Linked DNA regions of Homo sapiens: regions 1, 2, 3, 4 and 5 are each linked to region 6. The links are contacts of gene promoters, found by promoter capture Hi-C in blood cells and fetal thymus (Javierre and others, 2016). All regions are on one chromosome and are shown on one strand. Each heading gives the region's core, a stretch centred on a gene start or on the middle of the fragment in contact. The rest is flanking DNA. Distances are from core to core; before and after follow the strand shown.

Region 1 (2,700 bases), core at 10-2,509, 1.1 Mb after region 6:
TAAGCTTCTGTAATTATTGGTTCCACCCTCTGGAGTCAGCTCCATGCTCTGGGCTCTGAGTTCTGCCCTTTGAATTAACCTTCTTTTTTCATGAAAGGTAGCTTCATAGAAAGATGTTGACAGCCAAGTCAGCCTGTTTTTTGCTTGTAGAATTTTGGGGATCCAACACCTTCTTTCATTTTATTCTCTCACTGATTCTTTCAGGCCACACCAGCAGCAATTTTACTGCCATAATATTCTTAAGAACCTTGTAGATCTCCCATGTATGTCATGGGGATTCACTCCATTAAACAAAAAAGGCTCCTCCATAGATATTTCTTGGATAATTCCATCTCTATTTGTGACCTCTGCTGAAATGGTTGAGGGGATCTATGAGTCATATGTTCTTCAAAGAGCCCTCAATGTAACTGAATACTCTGACCTTTTGATATTTCTGAGGCACTAGCAAAATATTTTCTAGTCACATCCTTGGCTTTCTTTTCAGACTAGGTATTCCTAACAGTGAATATCCTATTTTAACATGTTTTGGAATCTGAATAGGTTGATAATTTCTCAAATATCAAGTTATGAATATGTTTTGCTCAACAATTATTCCCTAAATCTCTCTCTCTCCTCTCACGTTACTACAAACAGCAAGAAAAAGCCAGAGTGCACCTTCAACACTTTTGTTGCTTACAAATCACCTTAGCTAAAATCTAAGTTCATTGTTTACAAGTTTTGCTTTCCACATAACCACAGGGTACAATTCAGCTAAGTTTTCTGCCACTGTGTAAGAAGGGTCCCCTTTCCTTCAGTTTATAATAAAAATTCTTTATATCCATCTGAGCCCTCAATGGCAGTTCCTTCAATGTCTATACCTAACCAATGCTCGCTTATGATAATTTAGGAATATTCAGAGGTGATTTAGATTTTCTCTCTACCATGCTCTTCACTTTCTTCTAAGTCCTCAATAATAGAGTCACCAATAACCATATTTCTACTGAAAGTCTATTTAAGGCAATCTAGGCTTTTTCTATCATGCTCCTAAAAATTCATCCAGCATCTGCCCATTGCCCAGTTCCAAAGCCACTTCCATATTTTTTAGGTATTTCTTACACCAGCACCACACTTCCATGCAGGAAAATTTGTATTCGTTTCCTATTGCTGCTCAAACAAATCACCACAAACTTAGTGACTTAAATCAACACAAATCTATTATCTCACAGTTCTGGAGATCAGAAGTCCAAAATGAGTCTCATTGGTCTAAAATCAAGGTATCAGTAGCACTACATTCCTTCTGGAGGCTGTAAGAGAAAACTCATTTTCTTGCCTTTTTCAGCATCTAAAAACTGCCTGCAGTCCTTGGCTTGTGGCCCACTATCACCTTTAAAGCCACCAGTGGCCAGACTAGTTTTTCTCATATCACATCACTCTACACTGACTATTCTGCTTCCTTCTCCCCATTTCAAAAGATTCTTCTGATTACACAGGGCTCACCCAGATAACCTATGATAGCCTCCTAATCTTAAAGTCAGCTGATGAGCAAACTTAACTTCCCCTTGCTGTATAACGTAACCTATTGTTTGGTTCCAAGAATTAAGACATGAACATCTATGCAGGACCATTATTCTGCCCACCATAATATATATTTCCATAATGATAAATTTTCAATTCTGCTCTATTAGTATAGCCTACCATGTAACCTGGTTCCTGCTTTCCTCATATACTTTATTTCATATCACATGCCCTATGTTTCTACTTCTCTAGACTTCCTCCACGTTCTCAAATGCACATTCATCCCATGCTCAGAACCTTGCTCACACACTAGTCCCTTTGCCTATCCCCATAGCTTCTCTTCTTTGGACTACTCTTACATATCCTTCAACTATCAGCTTAAATGACTATTCTTCAAAGATGGTTTCCCTGAGCCTGAGACTCCCCTAACTAAAATATAGATTCCCATTATATCTTCAGTTTTTCTTCATATAATTTATCTTAATGGTGATTAGGTCTGTAACTATGTAATTGTTCAACGGCTATTTTTAAGACACTATGAAATCAAAGTTAAGTTCTAACGTCTTCATTTGTTATGTGCCTAACACCTAGCAGTATGCTAGTTTCCCAAAAATAACTTATTTGAAAGAATGAAAGTAACTCGCTTAATTGTCATAACAATGATCATTTTATAATTGAGGGTACTGGAGCTTAGAGAAATTAAGTAACTTCACCACAGTAAAACAACTAATGAAATTCCACCTCAGTCTATCTTGTTTCTAAGTGCATCTCTTAAACACTGTGTTATTCCACACTATTTGGGCACCAACAGCCATCACTTCAAAGTCCACAGATGCTCACCAACCATCATACTGAAGACAAATTAGTGCCACCTCGATTTCCTCAATGCAGTTACCTTTGCCTACTAAAGTCCATGGTCTATTACCAAATGCCTATTTCACTCTGCGTAACACTGGCATAAGAGGAGACGTACGACCTTTTTTTCCCTTTAAAACCTTAAAGTTTTTTACAAATAACTACTAAGCTTATTTTCAACTTAACAACTTGTAAAAAAAACATGCTTTGATTTTATCCACTTCTCTTCTATGGATTAATGAGATTATAAAATCTGTTAACACTTCAGAAGAAATTGTATTAAACCAACAGAGGAAATTATCTACTTTGGGAACCTGGCCAGATTAATTGTTAAAATCAAAGATCTAAAAA
Region 2 (2,838 bases), core at 210-2,709, 1.1 Mb after region 6:
CTCCATCTTATATCTATGTTTTTATTTGTAGGTGGAAACTTGGTGTGATTTTTTTTCTAAAAAAAAATCTTTCTTTAAATAAAAATCTAAAGAGGCAGCTTGCTAACATGGTAGAGAACAAAAAAGAATAAAGGGAGAAAAATTAAAATTTCCCACAAAGATGACTTAAATCTCCCAGTGTGGTGCATTTGTTTTCAATTCTCTCCTCTTTGCTTCTGACCTCTCAACTTGCTTGTTTGTTTGTTTGTTTGTCTTTTGAGACAGGGCCTTACTCTGTTGCCCAGGCTGGAGTGCAATGGTGCGATTTTGGCTCGCCGCAAACTCCGCCTCCCAGGTTCAAGTGATTCTCCTGCTTCAGCCTCCCGAGTAGCTGTGATTACAGGCACGCACCACCACGCCTGGCTATTTTTTGTATTTTTAGTAGAGACAGGCTTTCACCATGTTGGCCAGGCTGTTGTCGAACTCCTGACCTCAAGTGATCCCCCTGCCTCGACCTCCCAAAGTGCTGGGATTACAGGTATGAGTCACCATGCTCGGCCCTCTCTCAACCGTTAGCTCCCACTCACACCCCTCCCTTGACTTTATTTTTTACCTAAAACATTAACACTTGATTGTGGAATAGTTAGTAGCAAACACAGAGAGAGAATTTGTTATAAGTCATTTCTTAACAAAGAACCATTTGAAATCCAATTTCTGTTATGACTTTTACTTTTTTTGGACATCTTCAGGCATTTACCTCAAAATATTATCAAAGTGTTTGGCTGCAAAAAGAAACAAAAATACCAACTTTTAAACAACAAATGGATGTAAAGCTCTCTAAAGAAATCAATGTTAAATAAAAAGTTCAAAATGTCCTATACTTGCTGTGTGCTTAAATGCTGAAAAAGGAAATGTATGCCAGGAAAAAACTATTTCATATGATTGTGCCATATGTATACAGATCAAGAATCTAATTCACAGCAACTCTATTTTTAGGTGAGGACCAACAGTTTTATAAACTGGTTTGGAAAGAAGAAATGTTTCAGCAGTCACTAGATAAGAGGAAAAAGCTTGATGTGAAATAATTCTTTTAGTTCTCTGTAGGGTCAAGGATTCAAGTATCACATACAAAATGCGATGCTGAAATGGGGGAAGTCACTATAACATACTGCAAGTCTCTCTAATTTAAAATGCCATTCAGACTTGTACTCATGGAATACAAAGTGCTTCTTATAAAGCTTGTATTACAATCTATTTCTTAGCTCCTACTTTGGATTAAACAAGATAGTTACACAAAAGATCCAGGAGTAGTATCTGACACTTAACGGTTTCCTTTTCCTTTTCCTTTGGAGGTAAGAGGAATGTGAGCATGTTTCTAATTTCCAAGGAAAAATTATTAAATATCTTTGAATCTTGGTTTCTTCCTGTGAAGGATGATAAAACCACTTCATCAAGTCATTGTAAGGGATAAAAGTTATAGCCGATATAAATAGTTAATTGTATGTAGTTGCTCAAAATAAAGTAGCTATCATTATTAGCACTATATTTTTAGAGTGGTTTAGTATAAACTGCATATCCAAACTTCTAACCTTTACAATATTCACCAAAACTCAAATCTAAATAGACAAAGTATGCTCAAATCATGATGTTATATAGAAAAACCTCTAAGGTGGTTAAGCGACTTTATTATGGTATTTTAATATCATGAGTTTTCTCAAAGTGTAAGCTTTGAAATTTTAATAATAAAACATAATGATCCATCTATATTCCAGTTTGTTCTTCATCAAAAATGGGTTTCCAAGAAGAAAATCTAATTGTACCAATGCAAAAATCCTAGTAATGACTGGCTGAAAATCTGAGCAGCTCTGAGGTAATTAAGTTGAAAATGCCAAGGAAAATTGTATTTTTGTGGTTGTTATTTTATTACCCTTTCCAGCAATTTTCCACTTGAATACCTTTTAAATGTATAATTTAGCCGCACTTTATTCTTTACTGTATATCAATATGGGAGGCAAATAACTTAACAGAAGACCTGGAACCACCAAGAATTCTGGTTCTAGTTCTTGTATTGATTTAGCTCTTGATTTTCCATATTTAAATTAGGATAATAACCTGACCAGTTTCAGAACCATGTTGTCATGACCTCTTCTTCTTTTTCTTTGAGTCTCTCCATCTCCTTTCCACCACTGCCAGTCCCCAAAATACTGTGGAACTGAATTTATCATAAGTGAATTGCTTGCATTAAATTATCTGATATAAAGTAGTATTTGGCATAAAAATGATCATAAATGTTTTCCCCCTTCTTATAAATAATGCTTTTTCCCTTTTTCTCAACAGTTCTAATTGCCTCTTATTAAACCTATGAAATTAACTTCTCCTGATTTTAGTAATTCCAGTCATTTCAGCAAACCCAAGAGAGCCAAGGACTGAGCTCTGGAACATTCTGTTACTTAAAAGTCAATATTTAAAGATTCAAAGGTGAATCCCATCAAGGTGGAAGCCTGATTCGATTTGTCATGAGGATATGGGCTGAGACCGTGGAGACATTAAGGTTGGCTGTAAAGGGTGGTCAATAAATCGGTAGCTATAGGGGACATAAAAGCGAACGAGGGTTCTATTCTCCCTTGATCAATATTACAGCACATTACAGCAGGGAGAAGAGAGATATAGTGATTATGCAAGACAGAACAGAGATAATTATGTCAGCAAATTCTTGAGAAGGTGAAAAGAGATGGAATCCAGTGCACAAGTAAAGGGATTGTTTTTAACATGGGGACAGAGACCCTTCCTCTGTAATAGAAATATTCAGATGTGAGAGACTAGGTGGTGGGAAAATATCATTATCTTCTGATTGCTTCT
Region 3 (2,700 bases), core at 80-2,579, 1.0 Mb after region 6:
CTTGTTTCAATCCTTTTTAGCATCTTGCTTATGACTTTGCTGTCATTTTTACTACCAGTAATTTTTTTAATTTACAGCTATAGCTAAAGATAGAATTAAACTACAGCTCTAAACATAAGAGTGCTTTCAAAACCAAAATGCAAAAAATGCTTCACCAGTCTATCTGGAGGAGGGAATAGTAGCCAACTAACATTTATAAACCCCATTCCTCCTACAGAGGGATGATGTGCCATGTGCGAAATGGCCTATTTCAGTTTCCAAGGTTGGCAACAATCTGTACCAGCGAGACCAAGTTCCAGAGCCAGCAGTGCCCAGGTCTTTTCACGCATCACATACTGACAGCTGAATCTGTTTTGTGGAGTCTTATGCCATATCTTGTTCTTGCTCAAAACCTACAATGCCATAAGAACAGATTTTGCCCTTCAAAAGCATTTGATCTTTTATTTTTAAGTACATTTGGTTCTAACTTCTCTAATTAAAAGCAAGTATCTCTGCAAAAAAAACACAAAAATAACATTTATTTCACCTTCTATTGTTCCCTCTTGTATTTTTACAGGTTTATTTTGAATGAGTTCTCTCCATTTAATCCACTAAAATATAAATGCATTCACCGTCAATATCAACAGTGGATTTGATTTACTCTTTTTCTTTGAATGAAGAGCCTATTGCCTGAAATTCCGTATCTCAATTTAATTATCTAAAGAATGTATTTCTACAGATTCATATCTTAACATACACTGCTGGAAAAAAACGTTAACAAATTAGATTTTCCTTACCTACTTCTTCTATCAAGACAGTGTGGAAGAGAAAATTAATCCTTTCCTACAATATTTTCCAGTAGCACATATTTGTCATGTTGTTATATAACTTTAGAAAGTCTAAAATGAGGTAGCTCAGCATTTGCACCTCTATTCTGTGTTTTTCCCCTGAGAGAAAAGCTTTGTTACACACAGATGGGAACAGTTTAAACATTCCCTCTCTTTTCTTCATGAGACAGCTAAGATAGTGTTCATTTAAAACCCATTTTTGCTTTTCAGATGCCTGTGTAATTAACATCAGTCCTGAAAAGTTTTAGAAATAAGCCTGCAAGTTTCCACAAGCTAACTGGCATTTTCCCAACTTCACCCTCTGACTTTACTAATTTGCTGACCAAAATAACAAAAAGTAATCATCCATTAAATAGGTGGGTTCTCCCCACTCGACAGTTTCCTGCCTGGTCAATGATTCAGAGTGAATGCTCATTTTTTTCCATTAGTCTTTGAAACGTGTTCTAATTTGAAAGTATGTTATCAAAGAACAATTTAAATTGCACAATTTTCCTGGAAATGCAACCCAATTATTAAAAATTGAACCCACAGCAGCAAAGGGATGAAAATGTACTATGAGATGCTTTATTGTAGAGGCACCTATGATAAGGATAATGAAATTTTTGTAGCAACTTTTAAAAAATTGACCTCTACATCAGAGGCTTAGTGTCTTCAAGGTGAGTGGCAATAAATATACATTTACTCTGCCTTCTTTTCTTTCCCTTTAGAGGCCTCATTTCTTGTGAATTCCCATGCTCCAAATCAAGTTCTTATCCAATCAAGTTCTTATATCCACTGCATTTCAACTTCAAATATGTCTTCATTTTAACCCATAACATAATAGTCTTATAAAAATGTATAACTTAAAAGTGTCTCATATCTTCAGGATTATGGTTTATCATAGAAATTAATAATAAGCTTCAGAAAGATTTCAGTGAAGACAATCCAGATTTGAGTTAGGAATTTTAAAAGTCCAATTTCTGACCTTTGGATTTTAAGTTTAAGGAAATTGGTAAAGTTGTTTCTACGCATTTTCCTTCAAAATAATAGTGAAACATTAAGTGTATTAAGATCCCAGGCAAACCCAAGTCTGAATTCTTTAGAGTCAAATTTGGACTGAACAATTCCTCCTTTGAGACATTTTAAACATTTCTCCCCTTTATTTGGGATATGATATTTCTTCTCCTAGAGTGAAAAAATCCCTCTTTTCATTTGAAAGGCAAAAACATAAAGCCTAGAGTCATAGTGCTTTCCTGAGTTGGTTGAATTAAACGATCTATTAGGTATCCTACATAAAAATTCAATCTGAACATCAGGGAATAGAAAGTATTAACAAAAGCAGTAACACTAATACTTACATTACAACAGAACTTATGAAAATCAGTCTCAGAAGGAAAAACAAACATATGAATGATAGTGTCATAAAATAAGCTGCCTCTCTGGAGTACTCATATACTTTAAATAAATCTATTTTTATAGTATAATTAGCAATCTGATGACATGTGAGAAGAATACATCAGTGAAGGACATGTCCTCCTCCAAACAAAGTCAACAGGCTCTCAGAAAACATCCAGGTTCAACGTTCAGTTACTAGGAGCATTGCATCTCATTGGTAGCCTAAAGGAAACATTTTTATATGCCTTTCTTAACAATCCATCAGTCTCCAGGAAGAACTCTGCTCAGTTACAAGTATGTGTCAACAAACGCAATTCATAGTAAAGATATCCAGCTACTAATTACCACTGGAAATTTAAATAAGTTCTAAAAATATAGGTTACGTTCTGCTCTGAAATACTTAACCTATTTGGCATTTTTTCTGGGACACTTAATGGTCCATCAGTACAATGTGTTAGACTGTACAGATATAGAATTAGACACAGTGCTTGCCTAGGGG
Region 4 (2,987 bases), core at 346-2,845, 1.0 Mb after region 6:
CTCAGGAATTCATGAATTTTGCTTTAAAAGTGTCAGAATTCTAGATCTATCACATGCTGCCTGCATGACTTTAATCTGTGGGGGGACTGGACTTGCCCCATTTACCACATTGGACACCACACCCAACTCCTGCTTATACTCACAACCCACCACCAGCCCCATCTTACCACCCTCTTGAAGTTTTTCCCACCATTGTGAGTTTTCTTTAAATTAAACTCACTATTTAAATACCAATATTACCCCTGTATAAAATACAGAAGATTCACTTACTGTCTAAACTAATCTCTGTACTTTACCTTACTGGGAGCTCTATAATCTCTAGCGCTAATTTAACCATTCCCAGGAGCCACACATCTGACCCCACCATGCTTGTGTCTTTCCCATTTCACGAACAGATTACTCCCTAAGTGACCATTCCTAGACTAAGTATTGCTTCCAGTTTTCTGCTCACTTTAATGAGTTCAACAAATATATACTGAGTATATAGTAAATATTCAGTATATATTACATAATGATCATGTTGAGAATTCTGCAATGAAGATCAGGAATAATCCAGTACCATGAACTGTTTACCTCTCTGTGGCAGATTGCTAACTGTCCTCCAATAGCAATAACTCTCTTCCTCTTCTAAGTCATAAAACTCTCTACTTTTATCAGGGCACACATGGTTTCCCAGATAGAAACTTCATTCCCCTATATCCTTTTCAGCTAAAGTGAACAGGTGATGTAAATCCTCGCCACTGGGATGTGAGCAGAAGTGACAGGCGTTATGATCCATATTTTATTATTAAAAAGGAACTGATTGTCCCCACTCTTCTTTTCTTTCAGACTGGAATGTCCTCCATGAGGAAAATGGCAGTGTGGAGTTAGAAGACAGACAAAAACTGTGTCCGTGAGTAATTTCAGGTGGCAGGACTGTGCATCAGCCCGGAACCACCTGCCTGCCTCTAGATTGTTATATAAAAAAGAAATAATCTTCTTTCTTATTTGAGCACTGCATTTTGGGTCTCTTTGTTACAGGAACTTAGCCTATTCCCTAAGTAATCCATCTCCCCAAGCTTCCTATGACTCGTTCAAATGTTCCCCGTGGGTCTCATTCTGTAAAATGAGGATAAGAATTTTTTTCTGTATAAAAACAGAGAGTAAAAATTTTAGTCTTTTCAGGCCACATACACCTCTATTCCATATTGCTTTTTTTCTTTTCTACAAGCATTTAAAAATGTAAAAACCAGTCTTAGCTCAAGGGGCCATATAAGAATGAGCCCCAAAATTGGCCTTTGGGGCCACAGTTTTAACCAACCCCTGGAATCAACAGATATGGATATAATTTCCCAAAGATAAAAAGAAATTCTTTATGTCTTTAGTTGATTATGTCTAGAATGGAAGACCAAAACAATGTGATAAGAGGCTTAGTTAAAGCAAGTACTAGATGTCATGAAAGTGGAAAAGACAGGAAGTGAAAATGCCTATTAACTAGTTTTCATCACTGGTGTTGATATGCATATTTTGGTGTGCATCCTTTCTTCTCTCATTGTGTGATATGCTTTCCAGGTGTAGGGATCAATTCTGTAATTCTCCTTTTTAGCACAGTGATCTGCATGCAGAAAACAATCAATAAGTATAGCTGACCGTCTTGTTCATTCATGACTTTGCCACCTACTTCCACGCCTTTTCATAACAAAGAGCATATTGTCTGCCCAAGTAACTAAGTAAAAGTTACAGATTCGTTTTGTCCTCAACATTTCTTGGCATTGCCACCTATTTTAATATTATGATTTAAAGGTAGAGTAGATAACAACCACAATGAACAAAACTAGAACACATACAAAAACATTTAAAATAGTGCTTTATATTGTTACATATTAAGACCAAAAGACTCTCCTTTCCCTTTGGAAATTATGAACTGGCAGGTCTGCATGAGGACTGTAGCTCTATGAAAAGAACTTAGTCCTTTCTAGCATTCTAAGATTAACATCTCCCTAGAAAAAGGAATAACGGAGGACCTAAATTTCTGACAGGTACAATGGTAATAGTGTGGTTTGAGTATTTTCTTAGCAATGTTATAAATTTCTAGATTATCAGAGAAAATAATTACTAACTGAATGCCCAGAAACACCTTCCAGAGCTAAATGTAAGCTTCACACTTACTTTTTCCCAATTCCACCACCAGTTTTGGGGGTAGTTGTGAGTTGGCCTACACAGAACGTTCAGAACACTTAACAAATAAATGTTTTGCTTTTTGTTTTCTTTTGTTGTATAACATTCCTTTTTTAAAATTCAAGCAAAACCTGGGTGTTCTACAAAGTGGTCTATAGAAAATTTCTTCACTATATTTTATGCTTTAAAACAGAGGAGAACTGGGCATCAAAATCATACAGGAATTATACTGCAATAAAAATTTGACATCTCATATCCCATCTTCTTGACAGTTCTCTCCCTTTCATGATAGTCCACAGCTCTGATAGCTTTACTACACATTTTCATTATTTTTCAGTGTACTACTTTGTGCTGCCTTATAGTTTTCTCTGTTTCTTGCCTAATTGCTTTATATGCCAGTCTTACATCCTCAGAAAGACTGATTTTAATCTCCTTAAGGACAAAACTGTGTACTATACCTCTCTTCTACCCCAATAACTACCAGCAATTATAGCCCAAGACAGAGAGAAGGGTTCAATAAAAATTTGTTGAATGAAATTCAATGAATTTTCTTTTCCAAGGCTTGGAAGACAAAACAATGTGCCTATCTTGCTGTGTAAGAATAAGTTACTCCCCTTCCCTCCTAATTCTCCACTGAAGCAAGGTTTACAACCTTGGACTCGCGGTACAGCTCTAGGTAATACCTGATAATCTCACACACAGACACAATTTATGCTGTACAAAGGTTTATGGGAGGTCCTGGGAGGCACAGTCCATACTAATTACCAGGTCGGTCCAACTATCTCATTAGTCCAGGCTAGGAAAGTTGTTAGGATTTAAAATCCTATTGA
Region 5 (2,700 bases), core at 57-2,556, 1.0 Mb after region 6:
TACAAGAAAAAATACAAAATATTCCTGTCTAAAACATTATATTTAATAGGAATTTATACATTTGATGGATTTTGCTCTTTACACACACACACACACACACACACACGCATGCATGCAGAAAGAATTCTGGACCAATGACTCAAAAAAAAATATCCGTTCATTAACGACATCTCTATGAAACATGGTATTAGATAGTAAATCATCGAGATATGATAAGCTTCTGTCTTAAAGAAAATCAGGAAGAGCTATAGACTCCTAAAATTTAGACGTCAATGTTTTAAAAAATGGCAAAAGGGAAAATAATAAAGTCACAAATTTTTAGCAAAGCCAAAACAAGAAAGAACTAAAATTATAATCTCAAAAGTTTTTATTCCCAAGTGAAGAAAAGGTTAAAAAAGTTTTTAATCATTAGAAATATTTTTTAATGCTGAAAAGAAAAAAATAACTTTAAAAAAGTAGCAGACTGATCATTAAAAGTTACATGGGCCAATTATTTCCAATGAACAATTCACCTTTCCTGCCATTTATAAAGAAATGATATGGCAACACAGAAACGGGAAGTATGAGAAATTGCAAGCAGGAGCACCAAGTTGGTTTCCAAAACACAGTTTGCTTGCTCCTTAATGACAGTTGCTTACACAAAAACCAAAATTCCAGTACTCTGTCCATAGGGAGCGAAGAGAGTAGATGTGAAGGAGCTACAAGATGGATGACACAGAAGGGTCTTGCAATGGCCTAAGATATTTAGGGCCTGATAACTGGATATGGTCAGAATAGGATGGTTGCCTGGAAATATTCTTGGTCCTCTGCATCCCCATCTAGGAGGAAAATACCCAAAATGTGTAATGAAAGTGAATATGGGCTGGTTAGTCTATGGGCTGCGGCAGCAGCAGTCAACTGATTCATTCTTTGACCCTGCAGAAAGAGTGGACTGCTGACAGGAAGGGAAAAAAAATGCCTCGCTTCTTTAGTGTGAAACGGGGGATGTGTGCTCTATGGGATAACCTCTGTGTGTTAAAATGTGTATTTCTGTCCATCACATCACCTATATAAAAATTATGATGAGAAATTCCATTTGCTTGTTTTAATTTACTTTCTTTGATGAGCACCTGACCATGCCTACTTGGTAGTGATATATGTATGCTTGGCTACATTAGAATATATATTGTAACTTTCCTAATAATAAGGGAGGTATTAAAATACACAACAGAGATGTAATTTTGTGAGAGATAAATAATGATATAGAAACACTTCAAGAAAATAAAATCTAAGTAAAGTTTTTTAATTATGTAGAAATTGGAGTTTGAAATTTTAATTTATAAATCCTATTATCTTTAAAGTTATTTATTAAATAAAGTGCAAGCAGAAAGTAATGAGTTTAGTAGCTTTTATGTCAGTCTATTAATTTCTTCCATAATAAACAAAGTCATTTTTTAGTTCAGAACCATTAAGCCAAGCAAATATTGCCAGCAAGTTTAATTTTTACTTACTAATGTCAAGAAAGAAAAATGGCTTAATACATGACAAGCACTCACAAACATGAAGACACATTTTTTCAGCCTCATACATAAATACATTTTTACTCACCCAGAATGTATAATTAATATTAAGAGGATAGAAAAATCTCATTTATTTCACCTGAAGTTTATTAATACAGAAGATGATGACAAACTACAGGACAGTTTAATATTTATTTGCAAAGCTATTGCCACAAATTATCTCCATGTATGCTATCTGCAAAGCATTCAAAGTCAGAAGCATAAATAATGCCTGGATATCAGCAAAATTCCTAATAAACCCCTTGGAACAAATTTGTATATCTAAAGTCCAAGATTATTTTAAATAAAGAAGAAATATTATAAACCACAGAACAGAATCTAGGCAACTACACCAAATCACATGAAGGATAACATAAGGATTTTATTTATCCTGAAGAAACTGCAGTTTTGTAAAACATGGAAGAAGGAAACAGTTTCTTTGGAATTTTCAATAAATTTCTTTTATTTTTACTGATAAATATACTTTTGCTTTTCAACAATCCTTTATATTTTTCATATTTCTCTTCTGTTTCCTGTATAAATGGATAAATGAATCAATATGTTAAAAATATTTCTCTATTCTCTATTTACCTTTCGAAACACAATAGTCAGAAAACTATAATAATGAGAGAACTCCTTTAATCAGCCTGAGTGTCTTAACTCTTTCCAACAACTGCCATATATTACTGTCTGGTTTTTTTTAGGTTATGCTGCTGATGGTGAACATACTGAAATGACTGAAGAGCCAAAACTCTTTTTACACTGTGCTCACATGAAGTTTGTGGCTTAATTTTTAATATCAGCCTCTATTTAAGGAACACCATTTGAAACCAGCATCTCAGGTTGGGAGGCCAAATGAAGCTTTGTTCATGGCACACCAGGGCACTGCTGATGGAGTTCCCGGGAGTTTCATAATTATGCCACTTGGTTTGAAGCTATGTTTCAGTGCCAAGGTTTGACTGAAGCCCTCTTCTTAATTCTGCAACAGTGTGATCATCTGCCCTTCCTACTTTCTTCTTGCTTTTAGTTCACTTCAGATACCCTAGAATCCAGAGCATGCCCATTAATCCATATGTCCAAACCAAAAAAATTGTGTGATTAGATATCCAGCATTAACACCGTGGCTGAGATGTTGCCATATAGCTTATTACAGTTGTCATTA
Region 6 (2,700 bases), core at 177-2,676:
CTTGCTCTTTTGAAAAATATTGAAAACCTGCTTTCATTCTCTAATTCAGTTTCAAGCTTATGACAGACACTCCTTCATCAATTCACTTTCTGTATTTTCCCGTTAAAAACAACAGTATATATCAAATATCCTAACTTGTTTAAAGAAAAAGACAATAAAATGCATTCAGTCTTAACTCTGGTTATATTTTTCTAACTTGCATTTCTCAAAAGCTAGATTAAACTCATTGAATAAATATGTATTTAATAACTAACCCTTGTGTTCCTATTAAAGCTTCAATTTCGTTCTAATTTCGTTCCTGTGTTGTCTATTAGCAGCAAGAACCACTATGTAAGTAGGTAGTGCTTGCTATAAGGCTCAAGCATGAGAGTCAATAACTACATATTTATATATCGAAATTAATGCGGATAAATAAAACAAAGTTTTCAGATTTGAGACTATTTTGCTTCTGCGTGCGTGCAGGGGGATGTGTGCGGTGGTGTCAAAAATCTTTACGAATAAAACATACAATTAAGTGTTCATCTGGGAGAAAGACTCGCTATTAACAGTAAGAGCTTGAGTTTACACTAGAACTCGTTAAGTGATCGCGAGTAACCCGGGGATATATTATTTGACTCTTGATGAGGTGAGTACCTGCAGGCTGCCCAATTTCAAACCAGGAAATAATGGAGGTCAGATATAACTGCATATTGAACTGTCTGCACGCATTACATGCAACCATACAGATCAGTTTCCCTTGGGGAGTATCTAGGAAAAAGATCAAAACACACGCTTACACTCGAGATTTCTCAGAACATAACTCTCATTTTCCTATTTGGAGAGAAAATGCGGGAGAGTTTTGGGAAGCACCCCTACTGATGTGAGAAAGATTCTGGCATGGTTCTTTTTGTAATCAAAGTCCTGTAATATTCTCCTTTGGACCATGAAAAAGAAAACTCGCCTGGTTCTCGACAGCGTACTGAAGCCCCAGTCGCCTCCACTGTCCCAGCTCTTCCCTACGTGACCAAAAGGGGGAAAGTTGGGCGACTGTCGGGGACGGTGGAAGGCACGCCCCCTTCAACCAGGCCGCCTCGAAAGCCAATTTCCTTCGCTCCCCCGAATTTCGGATCAATCTGCAACGTGACGGCAGCAGGGACCGGGCTGGAGGAGGACGCAGGCCGGCAGCGCCCGGGAAGCAGGAGCGCGGAGAGGCGCCGAGGCCCGGCTCGCCCCGCGAGACCGACTTCCGGAGCTCCCGGCCCGACTCCAGCCCTGCCGGTCCTGCAGCCCTCCCGGCTCTCCCGGCTCTCCCGGAAGCCCCTTCCCTGCGAGTCGCGCCGGGCGCTGTTACCTTGGATGCCGGTCTGGTGGGACATGGCGGCGGCCGCTAGCTCCCGGCTCCGGCGCTGAGTGCAGCCAGCGGCCCCGGCCGGCGGCCCCAGGAAGTGGCTGCTCCTCCGCCGGCCCCGGCGCGTCATCCGCCCGCGACCCGCGGCCGCCCCGCCCCGTGAGGTTGACTGAGTGCCCGAGCGTCCCCGCCGCCCCGCCGCCCTTCCTGGCCGCCGGGCTGCGGTCCAGCCCCCGGCCTCGCTATCCTAGTTCTCTGCTTGGGGTCCTGCTTCTGCTCTTGCCGCCGCCTCTCCCGCTTCTTCCGGGGGGGACATGCCGCAGAATCTAGACTGCTCAGTGCTCCGACGTCTGCTCTCTGACAACCCCGCCGACGCCGCCATTCGCTGCCTCAGCAAAGGGGTGCTCAAAAACGGAAGTGATCATTTTACCAAATAGGCATTTTCCAGCTTAAAAAAGATGTGCACATTATTTTTCTTGGTTTACTCTTCCTATAATCGATACCGTTTAGTGTAGAAAAGCCTTCTCCTTGCTCCATTGTTTTGAAAGAATTAATATAGACTGCCTCTCATCAAATTTTTCCACGATTTTAAATTAAGTTAATCTCAGACTGTTAACTTTTCTTTTCAGCTGGACACATTTAGAGACTCAGTGTATCTTTCTCTTCACTCCGGAAAGAGACAGCCACTAAGAGATTAGCTGATTTGAGTATCCCTCTGTGGTCGATTATACCATTGCAAATCCTGCTCTGCTTTAGGTTGGCAGTTTATTATTTAATCCAGTAATTATTCAAAATTCACTTGGACAGATTTGTAAGGTAGCAGCAGATATTACTTAAAAATCTTTTCCTTTCCTGCTTTTACAAACATGTAGTTCCTTCCTGAAAGGTAATGTTAGTTTTGTGGGGGGTTTGGTTTTTTTTTGGTACTGCTTCTCTACTGCTACTAGGTGGGAAGCTAGTTCTTATTTTTAGGGCCTTGAAGTGACACATACACAAAATTATAATCTGCTAATGAAGAAATAATTTATTCAGGTCAATAATATAAGTGCAAGTTAATCACTGTTCCAGTACTATACGATGTATTTTTCATGAGTGATGAACAGGCCTGCAATTGTTTTTCTTTACAAGAATCACAGCAAACAAGGTTATGTTCTATTGCCTGTTATCTGAGCTCTGTTTTTCAGACATATTCTCATATTCAGGAATAAACTAAATCTGAGTTTTATGACTTGTATGGATTTAAGAAATGTAGGGAGGAGTTTCATTCTAATCAAATTCTTCCTGACACAATGGTTCACCCTGATTTACCAGTTTTTGACTACATTGCTGAGCAGAGAGAAAATTGCAGAGTTGACTTGCAGTATTTTGACTGA

The links. Contacts are between HindIII fragments. The CHiCAGO score rates a contact against its expected background, and 5 or more counts as called.
Region 1: a fragment that was not itself captured here is called in contact with the fragment with the promoter of TWF1 in region 6 in 1 of 17 cell types (activated CD4 T cells); the score reaches 6.1 in activated CD4 T cells.
Region 2: a contact is called between a fragment that was not itself captured here and the fragment with the promoter of TWF1 in region 6, in 2 of 17 cell types (erythroblasts and M1 macrophages). The highest score is 5.9, in erythroblasts.
Region 3: a fragment that was not itself captured here is called in contact with the fragment with the promoter of TWF1 in region 6 in 1 of 17 cell types (activated CD4 T cells); the score reaches 5.9 in activated CD4 T cells.
Region 4: a fragment that was not itself captured here is called in contact with the fragment with the promoter of TWF1 in region 6 in 1 of 17 cell types (activated CD4 T cells); the score reaches 7.1 in activated CD4 T cells.
Region 5: a fragment that was not itself captured here is called in contact with the fragment with the promoter of TWF1 in region 6 in 1 of 17 cell types (activated CD4 T cells); the score reaches 8.4 in activated CD4 T cells.

The regions. Positions count from the first base shown.
Region 1 is chr12:44,869,307-44,872,006 of GRCh38, forward strand. The region is part of intron 2 of NELL2 (neural EGFL like 2); the gene reads right to left. Among named protein-coding and RNA genes, the nearest start is that of NELL2, 5.7 kb to the right of the region's middle. The HindIII fragment of the contact is 2,514 bases long and covers 3-2,516 here.
Region 2 is chr12:44,940,448-44,943,285 of GRCh38, forward strand. No RefSeq gene overlaps it. Among named protein-coding and RNA genes, the nearest start is that of NELL2, 66 kb to the left of the region's middle. The HindIII fragment of the contact is 488 bases long and covers 1,216-1,703 here.
Region 3 is chr12:44,851,515-44,854,214 of GRCh38, forward strand. The region is part of intron 2 of NELL2 (neural EGFL like 2); the gene reads right to left. Among named protein-coding and RNA genes, the nearest start is that of NELL2, 23 kb to the right of the region's middle. The HindIII fragment of the contact is 786 bases long and covers 937-1,722 here.
Region 4 is chr12:44,830,910-44,833,896 of GRCh38, forward strand. All of the region lies in intron 2 of NELL2 (neural EGFL like 2), which reads right to left. Among named protein-coding and RNA genes, the nearest start is that of NELL2, 44 kb to the right of the region's middle. The HindIII fragment of the contact is 1,078 bases long and covers 1,057-2,134 here.
Region 5 is chr12:44,807,251-44,809,950 of GRCh38, forward strand. The region is part of intron 3 of NELL2 (neural EGFL like 2); the gene reads right to left. Among named protein-coding and RNA genes, the nearest start is that of NELL2, 68 kb to the right of the region's middle. The HindIII fragment of the contact is 2,182 bases long and covers 216-2,397 here.
Region 6 is chr12:43,804,891-43,807,590 of GRCh38, forward strand. TWF1 (twinfilin actin binding protein 1) reads right to left here and starts at 1,427. Exons shown (of 9, transcript NM_002822.5): 1 at 1,331-1,427. The coding sequence starts at 1,355. It also overlaps a transcript of TMEM117 not described here. RefSeq lists a silencer at 1,123-1,602. The HindIII fragment of the contact is 5,668 bases long and covers 272-2,700 here.